Regions from separate parts of the Homo sapiens genome. Here all the other regions are linked to region 1. The links are contacts of gene promoters, found by promoter capture Hi-C in blood cells and fetal thymus (Javierre and others, 2016). All regions are on one chromosome and are shown on one strand. The core of a region is centred on a gene start or on the middle of the fragment in contact, and the rest is flanking DNA. Distances in the headings are between cores, read along the strand shown. Region 1 holds the start of HORMAD2 (HORMA domain containing 2). Region 2 holds the start of NIPSNAP1 (nipsnap homolog 1). Region 3 holds the start of NF2 (NF2, moesin-ezrin-radixin like (MERLIN) tumor suppressor). Region 4 overlaps NF2 (NF2, moesin-ezrin-radixin like (MERLIN) tumor suppressor). Region 5 overlaps NF2 (NF2, moesin-ezrin-radixin like (MERLIN) tumor suppressor). Region 6 overlaps NF2 (NF2, moesin-ezrin-radixin like (MERLIN) tumor suppressor). Region 7 holds the start of SEC14L3 (SEC14 like lipid binding 3).

Region 1 (2,962 bases), core at 243-2,742:
TTTGGCAAAGTCTAGAGAAATTTTTGGTTGTTATGATGGTGGGGGTGGGGAGAAGGTTGAGAAAACTTGCACTAAAAGAATATTTCAGCCCAAATTTCAGTTTTAGTCATTATGTTCTAAACTCATGTTCTCGCCAACTTGAATAGTTTTTTTTTTCTTTCCTGCAGAAACAAAATAAGAACAGGTTTCAAGTGGCTCACTCTTTCATCTACTCTCTTGGGAAATCCCCTTGGGGAGGTTCATGGGACTCCAGGAGCCTTTGGAAAGCACCACAGGATACGAAATATCTACCTAAACAGGTGAGAAACGATCCAAGGAGCCACACCCCCAACTGCTCCCACAGTTACCAGGGCAGAAAAAACTGAGATTAGGGGTAGGGCACAAAGGAGAATATATTTATGTTTTATTTGCATAATTACAAATTAATGTTAAAAAGAATGCAAAGTCAGGTCCAGGGTAGGGATGAAGAGGTTGCAGATGCCCTCAAGTATTGGAAAGCTCTGGCCTTCTGGCCTTATGTCTTTTTTCTTTCTTTTCTTTTTTTTTATTTTTGAGACAGGGTCTCCCTCTGTTGCCCAGGCTGGAGTGCAATGGTACGATCTTGGCTCACTGCAACCTCAAACTCCCCGGCTCAAGCGATCCTCCTACCTCAGCCTCCCGAGCAGCTGGGACTACAGGCGCACGTCAGGTGGCCCAGCTAATTTTTGTACTTTTTAAAATTTTTTTGAGACGGAGTCTCGCTCTGTCGCCCAGGCTGGAGTGCAATGGCGGAATCTCGGCTCACTGCAACCTCAGCCTCCTGGGCTCAAGCGATTCTCGTGCCTCAGCTTCCCAAGTAGCTGGGACTACAGGCGCGCGCCACCACGCCCAGCTAATTTTTGTATTTTTTGTAGAGACGGGTTTTCAACATGTTGGCCAGGCTGGTCTCGAATTCCTGACCTCAAGTGACGCGCCCGCCTCAGCCTCCCAGAGTGCTGGGATCCCAGGTGGAGCCACCGCGCCGCACTTCTCGGGCCTTCTTCTAACTCGGGTCCCTGGGCCCCCCAGGCTCTCGCTTCCCTCCCCTACGCCGCCCCGCGCCCGCCTCAGACCTCTCTGGGACCCGCCGGCCTGGCGTCCTGGCCCGCCCGAGCCCCACGGTCCCTCGGGTCCTAACCTCGGCGGGGCAGGCACCTCCTCAGGAAGCCCCGGAGCAGGCTGTCGTTGTATAGGTGGCCCAGGCTGGCGGCCCCTGACCGAAGGTCGCGTCGGGTCAGTGTGCAGCCCGTGGCTGAGAGGCGGCTGCTGAGGGGCCGGGCGGGCTAGGGGCCGGCTAGCCGCCGTTCGCCCCTGCTTTGCATATTCATGAAGTCTAGCGAGGCCGGTCGCCCAGGCTAGCCGTGGACGGGTCATGAATTATTCATGAGGAAACCTCTGGTCCCGCCCAGAAAGGCCTCGTTGACTATTCATGAGCCGAGGAGCGGGTTTGGGCCGGAAAAGGCCGTTGACCCCCGGTGGGAGGGAAGCGTCGACGAGCTGAGGTGAGGGCTGTTGAGACGCGAGGTCTCGGCCCAGAGAGGGCACTCGGGCGTTGTTAGTTCTGTCTTTATGTCAAAAAACAATTTTTTTTTCTTTTCTTATTACTTAAGGCTTTAAGTTGGATTTGAAAGTATCATATTTCGTGAGGGCCTAAAGTACTGTGAAGAGAATCGGGAGGGCAGGGGGCTGAGGAGGAAGGCAAAAGGGAGGCGATTTCCCCCAGAACTGGACAGAGAGCACCCAGGTAGTTTTGAAATTCAGATTTTTCTGGACATGAAATCAAACTTGCTGAGCAAGCAGCAGCCATAATGAGCCATGATGAGGCTGGCAGGGCAGACGATGTCTGTGCCCGACATTGGAGGGGGCCGTGTGTGGTGGAGCTTTGGGGAAGTTTATCTTACCTGGGTCAGATTCTCCCCAGCCATTGAGGTTTTCTGCCAGGATCGATGCCTGGTACAGGCCAAGAGGTGAGAGAGGTGGGGACAAGACACCCCGCCCCCCTTGACCTCAGCTCCCCTTTCACTTTAGTGAGGATTTGCCAATTAATCCCTATGGACTTTAGTTCCCTAAACAGAGGGAGAGAGTCTTGAACCTCAGGATTAGCCAATCGCCAAAATGTGTCCGAGTACGCAGGGCACTGGACAGGCTGTGCAGTACATCGTGTACTCAGCTGGTAGAAATGAGGGGTGGTTCTGGCCCCTAAAGGGGTTTTTAATCTCAGCAGGATCATAATCTAATTTCTCCTCCATTGGACCATCAATCTGTTGAGGTAGGAACAGTATTTTACATCTCGTAATCCTGCATGTTGTTGCCTGGCACATTGTAGTTGCCTCGTAGATGTTGAATGAATGAATAATTGAAATAGCATGAAAAAGATATTAAAAAGTCAAAAGAGCATGAACAAATACTCAATTAATATAGTGGAAGCCATTTTCTCTGAATGAGCACAGGTAGGGGAATTACCAGGGCCAAATGGAATTTGTTAAAATGGTGAATAATTTATTGAAGCAAGCTCTGTTGGAAGGTCTAAGTAATTGGGCGAACTTTGGCAAACCAAGTTCCCTTGCTTAGCCTCACTTTCCTTTTCTTTTTTCTTTTTTTTTTGTGAGATGGAGTCGAGCTCTGTGCCAGGCTGGAGTGCAGTGACGCAATCTCAGCTCACTGCAACCTCCACCTCTCGGGTTCAAGCGATTCCCCTGCCTCAGCCTCCCATGTAGCTGGGACTACAGGTGTGCACCACCACGCCCAGCTAAATTTTTTTATTTTTTTTTATTTTTAGTAGAGACAGGGTTTCACCATGTTGGCCAGGATAGTCTCGATCTCTTGACCTCGTGATCCTCCCACCTCGGCCTCCCAGAGTGCTGGGATTACAGGTGTGAGCCACTGCACCTGGCCCCTTTTCTTTATAGTTTTATGTTTAGGTTTAAATCCATGATCCATTTTG
Region 2 (2,962 bases), core at 144-2,643, 500 kb before region 1:
ACCCGACCAACCACAGCATCTTTAATCCTCAACAACCCTATGAGATACATCCTGATTACTCCCATTTTACAGATGAGGAACCCGAGGCTTAAAGAGTCCTGAGGTCACCCCACCTACAAAGTCTGAGTTAGATCTGTTAGTGCCAGGCAAACTCTAGGCTTTTCCCACGGTGTCAGCTTTATCCCTAATTATTGGGCAGTCTAGGTGGGGCGCTTATGCCACTCCTCTTTCCCAGCTGTCCAAAAGCCCCACTGCTCTGTGCTGTAACATCTCATGGCAGGCACTATCAGAACTTTGCAGCTTCATTCCTGGGCTGCAGGGCAGGAGGGATGGTTGCTTCCTTTTCACAGGTTGGGGGAGGGGGAACAGGTGGCCTCACTTCTTTGGTAAATATTCCTTGACCATACACAGTCCTGAGCCCTCTGAGGGTGGGAGGCTGGGGAAACAGAGAAAAATGAGATCATGGTCTAGTGAGAGAGACAGACAAGCACCAAGTCATAACTGTGCAGGGTCATATATGCAGAGATGGGGGAAGTACAGGGCTGTGGGGACCAAGGAGTGAGGGGCTGCCCAGGGCCAGTCAGGGAGGCCAAGCCCTAGCTCAGCCCAGAGCAGGGCCCAAACAAAAGCCCAGGCTGAGAGCACATGGCCCAGCCAGACTCCCACTCCCAGGAGGCCACCAGTTGGGTGCAAAGTGCATGGCGCATTGGCAGGCCTGGGTCCCAGACCTGGTGCTGCCACGGCACAGCAGGGAGGGTGACCTTGGACAACTCCCATTCCCTCTCAGGTCCGTTTCCCCACCTGTACAGTTCGAGGTGGAGGAACAAAGGGTCTGTGCAGCCATGGCCCCTGGGGATCCCCCACTGCTCCCCTGCCATCATCTCTTTCCCACAGAACTTCCCGACGGAGGAGCTGACTACCAGAAGCCCCCAGTGGGTGTTAAATCACAAGCTACGCCTGGGAATGGGCCACTCCTCCTGTCTTCTGCCCTCTCCCACTCTCCAGGGCCCAGTACCTGCCCTTCTCACCATCTTTCATCAGGTCCCCATCACAGCCCGGTCCCAACCAGGACAAAGACCCTACCCATCCCTTTCTCACCTCCCCCATTCTTTGCCCAGACCCCTCCCTAGGCCTTGATCCTGCCCCGCCTCTAACCCCCAGATTCCAAGCGAGGAGTCTCAGCCCCTCCCCCACGACCCAGTCCCTGGCCCCCGCGCCTGCACCCCACCCCGCGCGCGTCTATCCCTGCCTGGCCGGGCTCTCACCGCGCCGCAGCTGCAGACGCAACGTCCCCAGCGCGAGGCCCCGGGCCCCCCAGCAGCCGCCGCGCCGTCACAGAGATGCTGCACAGCCGCGGAGCCATGTTGGAGCCGCAAAGGTTGCAGGAAGGCCCCGCCCCCAAGCCCTGGTGGCGGAGGCGGGGCGCGAATAAACTCCACCCCTCCGGCTCGCCCGCCCCCTCACTCACCCGGTCAGGTGGGCGTTTCCTGTGGGCGTCTCCAACTCCGCAGGTGCTGGACGGAAGTCAGGGTTCTAATCCTCTGCGCGCTCTGCGACCTTGGCAAGCCCTTTGCCCACTCTGGGCCTCAGGATCCACCTCGGTAAAATGGGAGCGTGGAACAATAATACCAAGGGTTCTTTTTTTTTTTTTTTTTTTTTTTGAGACGGAGTCTCGCTCTGTCGCCCAGGCTGGAGCGCAGTGGCGCGATCTCGGCCCACTGCAAGCTCCGCCTCCTGGGTTCACGCCATTCTCCTGCCTCAGCCTCCCGAGTAGCTGGAACTACAGGCGTCTGCCACCACGCCCAGCTAATTTTTTGTATTTTTAGTAGAAACGGGGTTTCACCGTGTTAGCCAGGATGGTCTCGATCTCCTGACCTCGTGATCTGCCTGCCTCGTGCTCCCAAAGTGCTGGGATTACAGGCGTGAGCCACCATGCCCAGCCTACCAAGGGTTCTTAACAAGGCTGTCCGGGATGTGCAGCAGAGGGTCAGTGTAACCACCCCATGGGTTCATTTTGCCCGTTTCCCAGACAGCGGATTTATCAAGACAGAGGAATTGCAATAAGAGTTTAATTCATGCAGAGCCGGCTGAATGGGAGACCGGAGTTTTATTATTACTCAAATCAGTCTCCCTGAAAATTCGGAGACTGGGTTTTATTAAGGATAATTTGGTGGGTAGGGGCCAGAGAGTGGAGAGTGCTGATTGGTCAGGTCGGAGATGCAATCATAGGGAGTGGAAGCCGTCCTCTTGTGCTGAGTGGATCTCTGGGTGGGGGCCACAAAACCGGATGATCCGGTTTCTTAATCTGTGTATCGCCAGCGGATCCATTGAGTGCAGGATCGGAAAAATATCTTGAGCACCAATCTTAGGTTTTACAGTAGTGATGTTATCCCTAGGAGCAACTGGGGAGGTTTAGAATCTGTGGCCACTACCTGCATGACTCCTAAACCGTAATTTCTAATCTCGTGGCTAATTTGTTAGTCTTACAAAAGCAGTCTGGTCCCCAGGCAAGAAAGGGGTTTATTTTGGGAGAGGGCTGTTATCTTTGTTTCAAAGTTGAACTATAAATTTGCTGCCGGGCATGGTGGCTCATGCCTGTAATCCCAGCATTTTGGGAGGCAAAGGTGGATCAGAAGTTTAGGTCAAGAGTTCAAGACCAGCCTGGCCAACAGGGTGAAACCCCGTCTCTACTAAAAATACAAAAAAATTAGCCAGGCATGGTGGCGGGCACCTGTAATCCCAGTTACTCGGGAGGCTGAGGCAGGAGAATCTCTTGAACCCTGGAGGCAGAGGTTGCAGTGAGCCGAGATCGCGCCACTGCACTCCAGCCTGGGCAACAAGAGCGAAACTCCGTCTCAAAAAACAAACAAAAAGACTGTAAGTTTGGCCTATGCCCAGGAATGAATATGGACAGTTTGGGGGTTAGAAGCAAAATGGAGTCGGTTAGGTCAGATCACTTTCA
Region 3 (2,962 bases), core at 223-2,722, 480 kb before region 1:
CTAACATGGTGAAACCCCGTCCCTACTAAAAATACAAAAATTAGCCGGGCGTGGTGGCGGGTGCCTGTAATCCCAACTACTGGGGAGGCTGAGGCAGGAGAATTGCTTGAACCCGGGAGGCGGAGGTTGCAGAGAGCCGAGACCGCCCCATTGTACTCCAGCCTGGGCAACAAGAGCGAAACTCTGTCTCAAAACAAAAAACAAACGAAAAAACACAGTAAATTGTCCCTATTTGACTACTAAGAGCTATTTTAAAATAGAATTTATTATCTAAGTACAGAAAGGTGTAATTATCCCCCCTACACCCGTTAGAACCCTTGATGACACTAAATAAATAATACATGAATACGGTTCAAAAATGGGCATCATAGAGTATAAAATAAAGAATGCTTTCATTTTCAACCCAAATTCAGCAATTTCATAGGATGCCAGGCTCAGCTCTAAAGCCTTATATGTATTCAGTGCGCTGAAATTCAACAACCTCACGAGGTAGGTATAACCAATAATAATTCTAGGCGGGGCGTGGTGGCTCACGCCTGTAATCCTAGCACTTCGGGAGGCCGAGGCGGGCGGATCACCTGAGGTTCGAGACCAGCCTGACGAACATGGAGAAACCCCGTCTCTAATAAAAATACAAAATTAGCCGGGCGTGGTGACGCATACCTGTAATCCCAGCTACTCGGGAGGCTGACGCCGGAAAATCGCTTGAACCCGGGAGGCGGAGGTTGCAGTGAGCCGAGATCGCGCCACTGCACTCCAGCCTGGGCAACAAGAGCGAAACTCCGTCCCAATAATAATAATAATTAATAATAATAATAATAACAATAATAATAATAATTCTAAAGGGAAGCAGAGGGATCTGGCGGGAAAGTGCCAGCAAACCTAACAGGCCTCCACAAGTGTCTTTAAAGTTTCATAGGGGTCGGTATATGTGATTAACTGCCAAAGAAGAATATTCGCCGTGTGTCCGAAACGCAGTCCCCTGGGGCGCCACACTCGGAGCCTACTTGAACCGAAGAGTCCCTCCCTGGGCCAACGAAGGACCCAATTCCCCTCGCCCCGGATCCAGCCTCTAAGTGGTTTCCCGGGTAAGGTCAGCAGAGGTCCGCCGCCTCAACCAGTCTTGTTAGAGTAGGCACAAAAGCATTCAGAGTGACTGCCACTGTAGCCACTCAACGCCGAGCCTAGGCCTGCTTTTTTTGCAGTTAGAGTGAAACTTTCCATTGGTGGAGTCACCCCAAAGGAGGCGGGACGGAGCGGGAAAGTCCTGCCTACCTTGGCCTTCCCAGCCAATCGCAGCATCTATGCGTCAGCCTCCGGTTCGGTTGCGCTGCGCGTAGTGGTCTGGGCGACCTGAGGGCGGGGCCGGGAGCAGGCCCCGGGCTGTGGGGAGGGTGCGCTTCCCGCGGGCGCGCGGAGTGAGGACGGTGACAGCCACGCGCGCGCGTACGCGCCCGATGCAGCGCGGCCCCGTGACCCTAGTCGGCCGCTGAGAGGCGCGCGGAGTCTGGGCCGCTGCCGTCTAGGGGTCCCGTCCCGAGGCGTCCCCGGCATCTCCGGCCCGAATCCCGGAGTGCCGGGTCGCGCCTGCACCGAAGGTCCCGGCTCCTGTGCCCTCCCTGCAGCCGTCAGGGCCCGTCCCCCAACTCCCCTTTCCGCTCAGGCAGGGTCCTCGCGGCCCATGCTGGCCGCTGGGGACCCGCGCAGCCCAGACCGTTCCCGGGCCGGGCAGCCGGCCACCATGGTGGCCCTGAGGCCTGTGCAGCAACTCCAGGGGGGCTAAAGGGCTCAGAGTGCAGGCCGTGGGGCGCGAGGGTCCCGGGCCTGAGCCCCGCGCCATGGCCGGGGCCATCGCTTCCCGCATGAGCTTCAGCTCTCTCAAGAGGAAGCAACCCAAGACGTTCACCGTGAGGATCGTCACCATGGACGCCGAGATGGAGTTCAATTGCGAGGTAACCGGCCGGCAGCCCCGACTGCTGCGGTGACAGTCGAGGTGGAAGCTCGAGAGGTTCTCTTTATATCATCTTATGGGTGTAGCTAGAGACGGGCAGAACCGGAAGGGCCAACTAGGCCCAAAACCTCATGTTAAAGATGATTGCTGCTTTTTTTCATAGGACTTTTGGGTTTTGGCATTTCCTGAAGGTTATTTTCATTCATTGTTATTGGAAGAAGCTGGATGCTCCTGTGATAGAAAATTCAGGATTTCAGTGTCAGGCTTAAGTTAGGCTTACGCTTAAAAGCTTGAAAGTTTATTCTTTCATTAGGTAATATTGTTATGTACCCAGGTATTAGAAGTTGCGTCTTGTTTATTGGAAAGCCAATACTTGTTTCCCTTTTCTAAAGCTTGCATATTCTGGGAAAAAAAACCCTTTGAAGAACGATATAACATCTCATACTTACTTTCCACATAGTTTCCAACATGATGATAACAGCTATCAATTGTTCAGTATTTTCAAAGTGCTAGACATTTGCACATTTAATCCTCAGAACAAACCCATTTATCTAGTAAATGGCAAGGTGGGGTTTTGAACCAAGCTCACAGCCCGTACAGTACTGCTTCTCAAGTAATTTAAGTTCTTGCTGCTAAAAGTGTGGTTTGTGGACCAGCAGCATTGGCAGCAGTAAGCAAGGGTTGGCATGCTTTTTCTGTACAGGACCACATAGTAAATATTTTCAACTTTGTAGACTAGAGAATCTCTGTTGGAGTTATTCAACTCTTCAACTCTACCATTGTAACACAAAAGCAGCCTTAGATAAGATCAGCTTCCAGCATGACAGCTTAAGGAACCCATTCCTCTGTAAAACTGGTGAAAATTCTTTTTTGTTTTGTTTCGTTTTGAGACAGAATCTCACTCTGTCACCGAGGCTGGCATGCAGTAGTGTGATCATGGCTTACTGCAACCCTGACCAACCTCCCTGGCTCAATCAGTCCTCCTGCCTCAGCCTCTCGAGTAGCTGGGAC
Region 4 (2,962 bases), core at 137-2,636, 430 kb before region 1:
GCCAAGCTAATTTTTGTATTTTTAGTACAGATGAGGTTTCACCATGTTGGCCAGACTGGTCTGGAACTCCTGACCTCAGGTGATCCATCCGCCTCGGCCTCTCAAAGTGCTGGGATTACAGGCATGAGCCACTGCACCCAACCTGTTCATCTTTTTCCGATTGATTTGTAGATGCTCCATGTATTATGAGTTATCAACCTTTTGTCTATTTTACGTATAGGACTGGTCAATCTTTTTCTTTGTATGTTTTGAGTGACTTTTAGAATGCGTTTACCAACCATTATTATATCCATACTCTGTTATGTTTTGTTCTGGTATTTTTATGGATTTTCATTTATAGGTTTAAGAATTTATTGACTGGTGTGTGGGTATAGTAGGGAGGGGGTCTGTCTTTTTTCTATATATGTAGTAATCTAACCTTTATGTTTTTGTGAAATCCTACTCAGAGCATTTTATCTCATTTCTCATAGTTATAGACAGGAAATTATTTCATATCCAGATAGAGCCTCCGTTTAACCTAAGTATTGGCTCCACAAGTCTTTTAAATGGTAAACTCCTTGAATTTAAATTCAATTAGTTTATGTCACGAGTAGGTCCAGGTTTTCTGGGTCTGAATTTTAATAATTTAGGGGATTGTCTTTAATGCAAGAGTACCAAATTAGGTACAGGCATATGAAGGTGCAGAGACCTGAAATCCAAGCTTCCTTAGCTTCCCAGTAAATTCACCCTGGTTACATTATCAGAATGCATCTGTTACATAAAACGATGAGGAGCAGCCATCTCCATCCCTGGAGTGGTATGACTTTCTTTTGTATTCACCAGCTACCACAACTTCAGGATTTTTTTCTTCCCTTGTTGTTTAAAGAGACATTTAAGAGCAGACACATACATCAAGGTGGCTTTAATGTTGGAAGCAGAGTTAGTCCAGTGGAGAAGTTCTTTCAGCAGGGTCTTTGCCACCTCTGCATTGCTCAAATGTGATGTATTTGATCAGTGGACTAGCTGAGAACTTGGTATAATAATGGGGGTTGTTAATCTTGCATGCCTTTGGAACCTGAATTTACAGCTTTAACTTTGCATATCTGCTTGCTTTTGCATTAGAGCTTGGTCAGCACTGTTGAGAGATTTGCAAATGCAACTAACAGGGCTTTCTTTTAGCATCCTACCCTTTCAAAAATCCAGGAGGCAAACAATGATCAATGTTGTCATAAGTAATGCAGAGGATGGCAATAATAATAATACCTGACTTTCACCATAAGCCATGTGCTGTGCGAAATGCTTACCTGTATTGTTTTACTTCATCCTCATCATCCCCTATAAGGCAGATGCTATTATGACCCTCACTCTACAGATGAGGAAGTTGAGGCTTAGAGAGAGGATGCCTTACTCAAGGCCTCAGAAGGGGTACTTCAGCACCCCCCCACTTCCCTTCAGGATCCTCTAAGGCCAGTGCTCTCATTTGACAAATGAAAGACAGATTTGGAGAGACCTGAGATCTTTTGGACATCAGGTTTATGTGTCAAGCATAGTTTTATTTATTTTATTTTATTTTGTTATTTTTTGAGATGGAGTTTTGCTCTTGTTGCCCAGGCTGTAGTGCAATGGCATGATCTTGGCTCACTGCAACCTCCGCCTCCCGGGTTCAAGCGATTCTCCTGCCTCAGCCTCCCGAATAGCTGGGATTACAGGCATGTACCACCACGCCTGGCTGATTTTGTATTTTTAGTAGAGACGGGTTTCTCCATTTGGTCAGGCTGCTCTCAAACTCTCAACTTCAGGTGATCTGCCCGCCTAGGCCTCCCAAAAGTGCTGGGATTACAGGTGTGAGCCACCACGCCCAGCCAAGCATAGTTTTAAAAACTTTGCTGGTCTTATTTAATTAAATCCCTGTAAGAGTCCTGCAAGATAAATACTATTATTATTCCTGTTTTACAGATGAGAAAGCTGAGACACAAAAATTTCCAAGGCCACATAGCTACTATGTGAAAGATGTAGGATAAAACCTTAGGCAGCCTGCCTCCAGAGCCAGGCTCCTACCCTCACTCTACAGCTGCCTTGCAGGGAGTACTGTTAAAGCTTAGTACAGTTACGACTTACTGCATCACATCTCTGAGCCTCCCAGAAATAGAGAGATACCAAGGCCTTTCATTTATAATTTCTAAGTTATTTTTTATTTTTATAGACAGGGTCTTCCACTGTCACTCAGGCTGGAGTGTAGTGGCACAATCACAGCTCACTGTAGCCTTAACCCGTGGGCTCAAGTGACCCTCCCATTTTGGCCTCCCAAAGTCCTAGGATTACAGGCATGAGCCATGGTGCCCACCCTATTTTTTTAAATGAAGAAATGCCTAAACTGTGTTACAAAAACTGTGGCATGTTTAAAATGTTTAAATTTGACAAATTAGGCCAGGCGCGGTGGCTGACGCCTGTAATCTCAGCACTTTGGGAGGCTGAGGCGGGCAGATCACAACATCAGAAGTCCGAGACCAGCCTGGCCAACATGGTGAAACCCTGTCTCTACTAAAAATACAGAAATTAGCCCGGGGTGGTGGCGTGCACCTGTAATCCCAGTTGCTCAGGATACTGAGGCAGGAGAATTGCTTGAACCTGGGAGGTGGAGGTTGCGGTGAGCTGAGATCACGCCATTGCACTCCAGCCTGGGTGACAGAGCGAGACTCTGTCTCAAAAAAAAAAAAAAAAAAAATTGACAAATTAATTCTCTTAAGATTCAAAAAAAACAATGCAATACAATTCTGCTATTTGAAAGATAATTATGAGATTCAAAAGAAATATGAATTCATGGGGCTTTTACAGTTAAGGTGATATGGGAATGAGACATGATTTAAAGTTAATGATGAATATCTTCTTTCACTCCTGTGTCTGTAGTTTTAGGCCGCTTCATTTGGAGAACACACCAGAAGTCTTAACTTGAGGCTCTTTGAGAATGAGAGAACATAACGAA
Region 5 (2,962 bases), core at 115-2,614, 410 kb before region 1:
TAAAAGAAACATCTCTAGTAATTTCTACGCTTGGAGAAATTAAGTGTGATTAACACCAGTTTGGGATGAAATAGCCAAGAGTGCATGCATCTATCCGTCCGGCTAGCTAGCTTGCTTTCTTTTTTTGCCTGTCTGCCTCCTTGTGCAGCCTTCTCCTTTTCTAATTAGATGGTGATAGAATGCCAGGTGGCATTTCAGTGCTTGCGGCTGGAATGCTAATTTGACTCTGGCTGCAATTCCCCACTGCAGGTCAGGCCTTATGGCATGTCACCTGCCCCAGGAGGTGCCAGGAGCATCTATCAGCAGACTGGATGATCTGCATCATTGTTTTCTACTCATAAACCTTCTCTGCTCATGGAAATCCACACAACTAATTTGGGCCTTACTGCTGAGAATATCAATTGTGTTTTTGGATAAACTACTAGATAGAGTAGCAGCAGCTGCAGTTGGCTGCCCGCAGGACTTGCAAGCTCAGAAGTGTAATAATTAGTCTGTGTGCACCTTTCTGATTTGGATACATTGGAGAGGCTGGTCCCAGCCCTAGGATTTAGAATGAAATGCCCAGTGTGCTTTCAGCTCTCTATCTCTTTGCTTTCTGAGGTAGTGGGCCACAAATGTGTTCTTTGGGATGCTTTCAGGGTGATGGGATGGATTTGTTGGACAAAGAAATCCTACTGAGCCAGCATGGGGTCATAGTGGCAGTTTCATGAAGAGCTCGTGGCAGTGGCTCATCCCTATAACTCCAGCACTTTGGGAGGCCAAGGCAGGAGGATCACTTGCCTAGGAATTTGAGGCTGCAGTGAGCTATGATTGCACCACTACATTCCAGCCTGGGTGACCAAGCAAGACCCTGTTTTAAAACAGAAGCAGAAACAAAATACCAAAATAAATAAATAAATAAGTAAATAAATAAGAAGGAGGAGGAGAGCTTTCTTTGACCTTTTTCTTAGCAGAGCAAAGCTTAGAAGTAAGAAATCTGAAAGTGTCAGGGAATATGCAGTCTGTGGGCCCTGGCAGAGAATAGCAGGAACACTGCAGATCGGCACTGCTTACAGCACAGCAGAGCCACAAACCTGGCATCTGGGCAACCACAGATCAGGTGGACAGACACTGACCTTGGAGCCAGATCTGAAATTTAGAATGTGAGTAAGTCAATGACTTACCTTCCAGACCTTAGTTTTCTCATCCATCAGGTGAAACTAATGATATACCTTCTCCATCTCAGATGAAGGGACGTATATTACACCTTACAGTCTTTGTATGCAGTAAACTTCTTTTGTGAATAGGAGGTCTTTTATATTGGGGTAGAGGTCTCAGGGAAAGTACAGGGCCAGGAACTGAAGGAGATTACCTGGCTTTTTTTTTTAATAAAAGGGTCTTGTTCTGTCACTGAGGCTGGAGTGCAGTGGTGCCATCATAGCTCACTGTAACCTCAAGCTCCTGGGCTTGAGCAATCCTTCTGCCTCAGCCCCTCAAGTAGCTGGGACTACAAGTGCATGCTACCACACCTAGTTAATTTTAATTGTTTCGTAGAGATCAGGTCTTGCTATGTTACCCAGGCTGATCTCAAACTCCTGGGCTCAAACATTCCTCCTACTTCAGCCCCCCAAAGTGCTAGGGTTACAGGCATGAGCTGCTATGCCTGCCTGGCCTGACTGGGCTTTTTCTTTCTTTCTTTCTTAGTTTCTTTTTTTTTAAAAGAATTGTAGATATGTAGTAAGCCACCTTATGGAAATTGTAATATGATGGAAATTAGAGAACAAATTGGCCAAGCTTTTCATTGACTTACAAGGAGAAAATTGGAGAAGAACTTTCACTGTTTTATTGCTTGTCTTTGCATTATCTTTTTGAGCTTGTGTGTGTGTGTGTGTGTGTGTGTGTGTGTGTGTATTTGGCTTAGGATTTAGAAAAAGCAGCAGTCTTAGAAACCTTGTATGACCAGAGTGTGGGATAAGATTGAAGCAAGAAGTAATTAAATGTGCTTTAATTATTTAAGGCAGAAAATAGTGCAGTGGTCACTTCTGGGTTCTGCTTTTTGAACTCAGTTAGTACCCTGGGATCACAGAGGAATGGCACTGTCTTGTGCTTGTTCCCCTTATTAAGCTCAGCATGTGGCCCAATTAATGCAGTGATCCAGAAGGCAAGGGAGGTAGTGGTGGCTTTGTGCTGTTGCCTTAAGGACACGGGGCTGTGTTTCCCGCCTGGCTCCCTCCTGTCCTAGGCCTGGCTCAGGAGTTGTCTCCACATGAGGCTGTGCAAGTCTGTGCTGTGGCTGTTGCAGCTCCCCCCTGTGAAATACAATGTGTGAACTATTGATGCATCACGTAGAATGATTCCATCTTCTCTGTGGGTCAGAGGCAAGAGTGGAGCTATTGTTGATGAAATCAGAGATGTGAGAGGGGTCCATGTGGATTAGAAATGGTGAGATGGCTTGCCTGCCCAGATGAGAAAGCTGCTTATTTCTGGGGCTCTATCTGAGGGAGGAGGTCCTGCATTGCATCCCATCGGCCATGGGGCAGAGCCACCTGGGGTTTCCCAACAAAAAGCAACATTGGCAAGGTAGCCATTTCAGTGCACCGTGTATAAGAATGCCTCCTTCTGCCAGGCGCGGCGGCTCATGCCTGTAATCCCAGCACTTTGGGAGGCCAAGGTGGGTGGATCATAAGGTCAGGAGTTCAAGACCAGCCTGGCCAATATGGTGAAACCTGATCTCTACTAAAAATACAAAAATTAGCCAGGCATGGTGGCGGGTGCCTATAGTCCCAGCTACTCGGGAGGCTGAGGCAGGAGAATTGATTGAACCTGGGAGGCGGAGGTTGCAGTGAGCCGAGATCGCGCCACTGCACTCCAGCCTGGGTGACAGAGCAAAACTCTGTCCCCTCCACCAAAAAAAAAGAATGCCTTTTTCTATCCGGGTCAAGACTCAACAGGTTTTTATTGTTTGTTCATTTGTTCATTCACC
Region 6 (2,962 bases), core at 248-2,747, 390 kb before region 1:
ACTTGTTTTTAAAGCAGGCTACCAGGCAGTTAATCAAACACTCGGGTTAATCAAGGGTTAATAAAAGCAGGGACTTGATGTTTAATGGGACAGGCATTCTCTCAGCATCACTAGATTCAATAATGCTGCACTATTAAATTTTGCTGCACATGAAGTTCAGTGCATGTTCCATTTTCTAGACTTTGGCAGTGCCTGTGGTCAGTGACCGGGACTGATGAGCAGCCACATGCCTGCACTAGGGTGGCTCTGGGGTGGTGCATGCTGCAGTCTGGCTGGCACAAGCCTAGCTGAAGAGAAGTACTGCTTTAGGCTTGGATGTGGGGATACCTAGATGTCAAGGGCAGAACTCCATCTAGAATGCCTGGGGATGAGATGCAAAAGCTGATAGTGAATGGAACAGTTTCCAATGTCCAAAAGCTTGCTAATCTGGGATCAAACCAGCCTGTGTTGATGTTAGTTTTGCTTTGTTTTGAGACACGGTCTCCCTCTGTCACCCAGGCTGGTACATTCTCGGCTCACTGCAACCTCCACCTCACAGGCTCAAGTGATCCTCCTGCCTCAGCCTCCCAAGTAGCTGAGACTAGAGGTACTAGCCACCACACTCAACTAATTTTTGTATTTTTTATAGAGATGGGGTTTCGCCATGTTGCCCAGGCTGGTCTCGAACTCCTGAGCTCAACCAATCTGCCCGCCTCTGCCTCCCAGAGTGCTGGGATTATAAAAGTGAGCCACTGTGCCTGGCCTGTTTTGTTTTTAATAAGGTTTTTTGTTTGTTTTGTTTTGTTTGAGACAGGATCTCACTCTGTCACCCACCTTGGTGACAGCCTCGACCTCCTGGGCTCAAGCGATCCTCCCACGTCAGCCTCCCAAGTAGCTGGGACTACAGGCATTTGCCACCATGCCTGACTGATTTTTTTATTTTTATTTTTGTAAAGATGGGTTTCGCCATGTTTCCAGGCTGGTCTCGAACTCCTGAGCTCAAGTGATCTTCCTGCCACAGCCTCCCAAAATGCTGGGATTACAGACATGAGCCATCTTGCCTGGCCATTGTATTTGTCCTCGTTTTCAGTACTCTTCTGCCTCACTGAGAGGTCTCAGAGTCTGCTGTGTGGTTTCAGCAGTACCCATGGGGGCTGTGTAACATTGAAGCTGATTCAAGGAGTTTGCCCTTAGGTTACCAGGGGTTACCGCATTCCCTGAGGAATGCTGAGCGGCCATCCAGTCTGATTAACCGAGGTTCCTACTTCTCTGCCACTTCCTTTCTCTATAATTCTTACTCGCTCGCTCTCTCTTTTTTTTTTTTTATTATACTTTAAGTTCTAGGGTACATGTGCACAACGTGCAGGTTTGTTACATATGTATACATGCAGCTATAAAAAAGGATGAATTCTTACTCTCTCTTGAGGCACAGTGTCCTCACCTGCAAAAGGTGGATAAAAATAGTCTTTGCCCCCAGGAGTGTTGTGAGGAATAAATGAGAGAATGTGTGTGCAACACTCAGTGCACAGTCAGAGCTCAGTAAGGGGTTAAAACTCTGAAAAGGGAAAATCTGCTTGTGATCCTGCAGCAAAGGGCGAAGGACGGCATGTGGGCCACACCGCCACATCTAGGTACACTGCTTGTGCTGGGCATATTCATTCATTGTATTAATTGCTACGTGGCTGAAAGTAAAAACTTTTAAAAAGCCATAATTGGCCGGGCACAGTGGCTCATGCCTATAATCCCAGCACGTTGGGAGGCCGAGGCAGGTGAATCACCTGAGGTCAGGAGTTCGAGACCAGCCTGACCAACATGGAGAAACCCCGTCTCTACCAAAAATACAAAATTTGCCAGGTGTGGTGGCGCATGCCTGTAAACCCAGCTACTTGGGAGGCTGAGGCAGGAGAATTGCTTGAACCTGGGAGGTGGGGGTTGCAGTGAGCCAAGATCGTGCCATTGCACTCCAGCCTGGGCAACAAGAGCAAGATTCCATCTCATAAATAAATAAATAAATAGCCATAATTAACTTCACTGTTTCCTTGTAATATTTCACTTGGGTTTGCAAGGATGTATTTTTCTCCTCTTGCTAATCTTAACTTCCTGTATTTCCATTTTTCCCAATTGATGATCAGTACAACTAGTTTGCCATTTGCATCTGAGTCAGAGCAGTGCTAGCGATCAAAAGCCGCCCTGGGGAACCTGGAATTGTTTCATTCTCAGTGGGAGCGACACGTGTCCTGGCATCTGAGCCTTCCGAGTGAGGGGAGTGAGTCTGGCCATCAGGCTGGGGTTGAGGGACACAGGGTGCCTTGAGCCTGGCTTTCGTGCCTTCAGAGCCACAGTGCCAATGATGGGAGTGGTGGCTTGGTGTGGCGTAACTGTACCACCATACCTTGATGGTAGAATGCAGTCCTGGAATATATACATTCAGGGTCTTTCTTTCATCGCTTCTCAAGAGAGGGGTTTCAGTCTCCCGATCCTGAGCTGGTCTGAGTGCCAGCAAACAAAGTCATCACTTTTGTGCCTGTGGTCTCCCAAGGAGCACAGGATTTCCAAGGAAATTGACGGATGAGAAATCATGGGGGTGGTGGAGCTTAGAAAGCTTATTTCATTAGTAAATGGTTTGAACCGTCAAGGTCCAGCTGTGGTTTCCACTGATGGAGGAACAGGAAGAAGAGGAGCCTTGACATTTATCTCAAGCGCCAGCAGCTTCTCTTGGATCAGGAAGACATAAAAGTCCAATGTCATCTTCAATTTGTGCAGGCTCCCCTTGGAGTTGCAGAGCCAGTGAAGTGAAGTAGAACAGTTAAAAAAACACCCGGGGAAGTGATAAATCACAGAGAGAGATTGCATATGCGGGAAAGGTGTCTCCCACAATTAAAACAAGTGGCCAGAGCCTCCCTGGCGACCTCTGGTCTGCATTGCCAGCCCTGAAGATGGCTCCTAAATTACTTAAGTTTAATAGGTAGTTAATATAGCCAAC
Region 7 (2,962 bases), core at 252-2,751, 390 kb after region 1:
AGCGTAGAAGGAAATAATCATCAGGGTTGGGCAGGGCAGGAAGCACATCCTGGACGTTTTCTCGGAACTGGCAAGAGAGATGCTGGTTAAAGTGGCTCTCTCACATTGAGCCTTGGCCTCCAGACTCAAAGACTGTTTTCACAACCTCTCCTTTCCTCCCACATGCAAAATGGCCCACATTGATGAAAGGATGGGTTAATGGTTGAATAGAAGGGCAGATGGATCACTGGATAGGTGGATGAATGGAAGGAGGATAGATGGATGAATAAATGGTTAGAAAGAAGAATAGATGGGTGAGTGGGTAGGTAGATGGAAAAAGGGAGAAGAAATCAATGGATGAATGGATAGATGGATGGATGGAGAGTGGGTGGGTGGATAAATCAGTGAATGGACAGAGGAGAGATGGGTGGGTGATTGAGAGAAAGAAAGATGGATAGGTGGCTGCGTGGGTAGGAAGAGGGATGGGTGGATGAAAGAAAGGATAAACAGCCAGGTATGGTGGCTCACGCCTGTCATCCCAGCACTTTAGGAGGCTGAGGTTGGTGGATCACCTGAGGTCAGGAGTTTGAGACCAGCCTGGCCAACATGGTGAAAACTCATCTCTACTAAAAATACAAAAATTAGCCAGGTGTGGTGGCACATGCCTGTAATCCCAGCTACTCAGGAGGCTGAGGCAGGAGAATTGCTTGAACCTGGGAGACAGAGGCTGCAGTGAGCTGAGATCGCTCCACAGCACTCCAGCCTGGATGACAGAGACTCCATCTCAAAAAAAAGAAGAAAAAGAAGAAGAAAGGATAAATAATTGGGTGGATGAATAAGTGGATTGGAGTTTGGATGCATTCTTAGTTCCCTCCATGTGTTAGCCCTCAAAACATCTGCTTTTTTTCATCCCATCTTCTATTAAAACATGGTTAATAATTATATGTCCTCTTCTTCCTTTAGCTCTTTGAAAGACAACACTTTCTGCTCTGTCTCTTGGGCTTTTACAGACTGGTCATCTTTCAGGATCCCAAAGAGGAAGGGGTTAAAGGGCAGACCAGCAGCATCTTTCAGCTCCTACCTATGGTGCCTGGGAGGGAGGAACGGGGGTACCTGGCTGCCAGGTAAACCTCTCTGGTTCTGGCTCCTGGATGAGAAGAAGTCAGGCTTGACTTGGGTGGGCACCACCCACGTTATTGCCTGGAAGTGGTGCTAGTCCCTCAACCCCCGCCCGGGACAGGGTTGATGTTACTGGGCACCGTGGGGCTTGACCCTTTGGGAGGTAACACCAAAGAGACAATGTCAAGGACATGCTGAATCAACTGAGTGGGGCAGGATTCCAGCCACTTCTTTCCACCCCCCAGCCCCTTTCCCCTGGTCTTCCGGAACTCCAGGGGGAGGGGCTCTCACCTTGGCCAGGGTCTCTGCCTGTTTGGGGCTCAGGTCTCCAACTCGGCCGCTCATGGTGCTGGCTGGGGCTTGAGGAGTGGTGGCCACTATAGGCAAGAGGCCAAGCCTAGTTTGTCAGCCCTGACCCAGCTGGGTCCTTTTGCCCCCACTCCTGGGCGTGGCTCCAAGCGCCTCCTCATGGGCCAACTGTTTAAATTGCAGATTACATAATTGGGATTAAGTGAGGTCCCCTGCTTGGCTTGGGGACAGATCTGGAGGGGCAGGCGGGCATGGAGCGTGTGCCAGAGGTCCCCTGCCAGGAGGAGGCAGCTGGGAGGAAGGGAGGCTGGCCTCCCGTGACCTTGGAGCCCAGAGTGAGTGCCTGTAGAACCCGCTGACCCTCCCAGGCCTCCAGTGACCACTGCCCTGGAGAAGGGGGAGTTTCAGGAGAATGAGGACCGCTCCTTGTGGGTACCCTTTCTCCCTGAGCCCCAGTCTTCCCACACTTAGGATTCTGCAAAGATCACCCCCCTCTACCCAGCTCTGAAAGGGTAGGATTCTGAGGCTTGGTCAGTGTAGTAAACAGTTCATTCACTTTGTTGGGGGTGGGAGGCCCAGGTCCTTCTTTTGTGTCCACAGTCAAGAAGAGGACAGATGGCATCTTTTGAACGTCACTTGCTTCATTTATAAAATGGGGCCGTTAATGTTTGCCTTCCCCTCCTTATGTGGTTAGAGGGAAGATCTAATGAGACATAGGGACTGTCAAGGGTTGTGTGCATCTGAGGGATACTCTCCTTCAGCTCTCCTGGTCCCCCCTGGAGCTGTAAGCTTCAGCTCCAGGAAGGGAGAGACCCTGTTATCCATGACTCTCTCTGAAGAAACCATCAGCTTGAGGCTGCAGCATGGCCACATGGCCACATGGCCACATCTCAGCCTTGAGGGGGTCTGCATGGGCTGAAACCAACCCCGGGCTAGCCTCGGCCCCAGCAGCTGGGCTAGCCCACACCATTCTGCCTAGGGCTTTTCTAGGTCCCCTACTCCTGGGGCATCCTGGGTACCCACCCCTGAGCTACAGTGGGCCTCTATTCTGGGCTAACCCAGGGTCTCTTTAGGCTAGTAGATGTTGGTCAGTATCAGACATCTTCTCAGGGACATCTTCCTTGCTCTGGGCTCCTCACAGAGTTGGATCCAGAAGGAGAAGGCAGGGCTAATGCTGGCCATTTCCCTCTGCCTGGGGAGCCCGTGGCATGTACTCAGGAACAGTTAGGTAACTCTCCACACCCCAGCCCTGCCCCATTTCACATTCCAGCCTCAATTTCTGCAAAGCCCCAGCTGCTGTCTACACCCACTTCCTGCCAGGCCAGTAATGTACAGAGATTGGGTTCCTCCACTGCCCTTTCCCGAGCCACTAATCCTGCCCATTTCTCACCAGTCTCCTTTCTCACCCTAATCCCTATAATGTGAGGTGTGCTAGTTACTTCTAGGGGCATCGGAGACTGTGAAGGAGAGCCAGGAGGGAGGGTTGGGGGTCTCCTCAGGAGTTGTGAGCCTTCACACTGAGCTCTTTTCCTGACCCAGACCACAGATTTGTCAA

What was found. Contacts are between HindIII fragments. The CHiCAGO score rates a contact against its expected background, and 5 or more counts as called.
Region 2: the fragment with the promoter of NIPSNAP1 here is called in contact with the fragment with the promoter of HORMAD2 in region 1 in 15 of 17 cell types (non-activated CD4 T cells, total CD4 T cells, erythroblasts and 12 more); the score reaches 12.2 in non-activated CD4 T cells.
Region 3: a contact is called between the fragment with the promoter of NF2 here and the fragment with the promoter of HORMAD2 in region 1, in 4 of 17 cell types (megakaryocytes, M0 macrophages, total CD8 T cells and 1 more). The highest score is 10.9, in megakaryocytes.
Region 4: a contact is called between a fragment that was not itself captured here and the fragment with the promoter of HORMAD2 in region 1, in 4 of 17 cell types (erythroblasts, megakaryocytes, M0 macrophages and 1 more). The highest score is 11.6, in erythroblasts.
Region 5: a contact is called between a fragment that was not itself captured here and the fragment with the promoter of HORMAD2 in region 1, in 1 of 17 cell types (erythroblasts). The highest score is 5.7, in erythroblasts.
Region 6: a fragment that was not itself captured here is called in contact with the fragment with the promoter of HORMAD2 in region 1 in 4 of 17 cell types (M0 macrophages, erythroblasts, megakaryocytes and 1 more); the score reaches 8.4 in M0 macrophages.
Region 7: a contact is called between the fragment with the promoter of SEC14L3 here and the fragment with the promoter of HORMAD2 in region 1, in 5 of 17 cell types (neutrophils, activated CD4 T cells, monocytes and 2 more). The highest score is 9.9, in neutrophils.

The regions. Positions count from the first base shown.
Region 1 is chr22:30,078,972-30,081,933 of GRCh38, forward strand. HORMAD2 (HORMA domain containing 2) reads left to right here and starts at 1,493. Exons shown (of 11, transcript NM_152510.4): 1 at 1,493-1,520. HORMAD2-AS1 (HORMAD2 and MTMR3 antisense RNA 1) reads right to left here and starts at 1,286. Exons shown (of 5, transcript NR_110541.2): 1 at 1,157-1,286. RefSeq lists enhancers at 949-1,646, 1,484-1,563 and a silencer at 1,094-1,143. The HindIII fragment of the contact is 6,725 bases long and covers 1-2,962 here.
Region 2 is chr22:29,579,720-29,582,681 of GRCh38, forward strand. It overlaps NIPSNAP1 (nipsnap homolog 1), which reads right to left and starts at 1,394. Exons shown (of 10, transcript NM_003634.4): 1 at 1,266-1,394. The coding sequence starts at 1,363. RefSeq lists an enhancer at 555-1,167 and a silencer at 1,151-1,200. The HindIII fragment of the contact is 18,053 bases long and covers 1-2,962 here.
Region 3 is chr22:29,602,161-29,605,122 of GRCh38, forward strand. It overlaps NF2 (NF2, moesin-ezrin-radixin like (MERLIN) tumor suppressor), which reads left to right and starts at 1,473. Exons shown (of 16, transcript NM_000268.4): 1 at 1,473-1,952. The coding sequence starts at 1,839. RefSeq lists an enhancer at 859-988 and a silencer at 1,239-1,818. The HindIII fragment of the contact is 9,228 bases long and covers 1-2,238 here.
Region 4 is chr22:29,650,760-29,653,721 of GRCh38, forward strand. All of the region lies in intron 4 of NF2 (NF2, moesin-ezrin-radixin like (MERLIN) tumor suppressor), which reads left to right. Among named protein-coding and RNA genes, the nearest start is that of NF2, 49 kb to the left of the region's middle. The HindIII fragment of the contact is 1,376 bases long and covers 699-2,074 here.
Region 5 is chr22:29,668,650-29,671,611 of GRCh38, forward strand. The region is part of intron 10 of NF2 (NF2, moesin-ezrin-radixin like (MERLIN) tumor suppressor); the gene reads left to right. Among named protein-coding and RNA genes, the nearest start is that of CABP7-DT, 50 kb to the right of the region's middle. The HindIII fragment of the contact is 813 bases long and covers 959-1,771 here.
Region 6 is chr22:29,684,665-29,687,626 of GRCh38, forward strand. All of the region lies in intron 15 of NF2 (NF2, moesin-ezrin-radixin like (MERLIN) tumor suppressor), which reads left to right. Among named protein-coding and RNA genes, the nearest start is that of CABP7-DT, 34 kb to the right of the region's middle. The HindIII fragment of the contact is 2,164 bases long and covers 416-2,579 here.
Region 7 is chr22:30,470,516-30,473,477 of GRCh38, forward strand. It overlaps SEC14L3 (SEC14 like lipid binding 3), which reads right to left and starts at 1,502. Exons shown (of 12, transcript NM_174975.5): 1 at 1,390-1,502; 2 at 1-67. The coding sequence starts at 1,443. The HindIII fragment of the contact is 8,474 bases long and covers 1-2,194 here.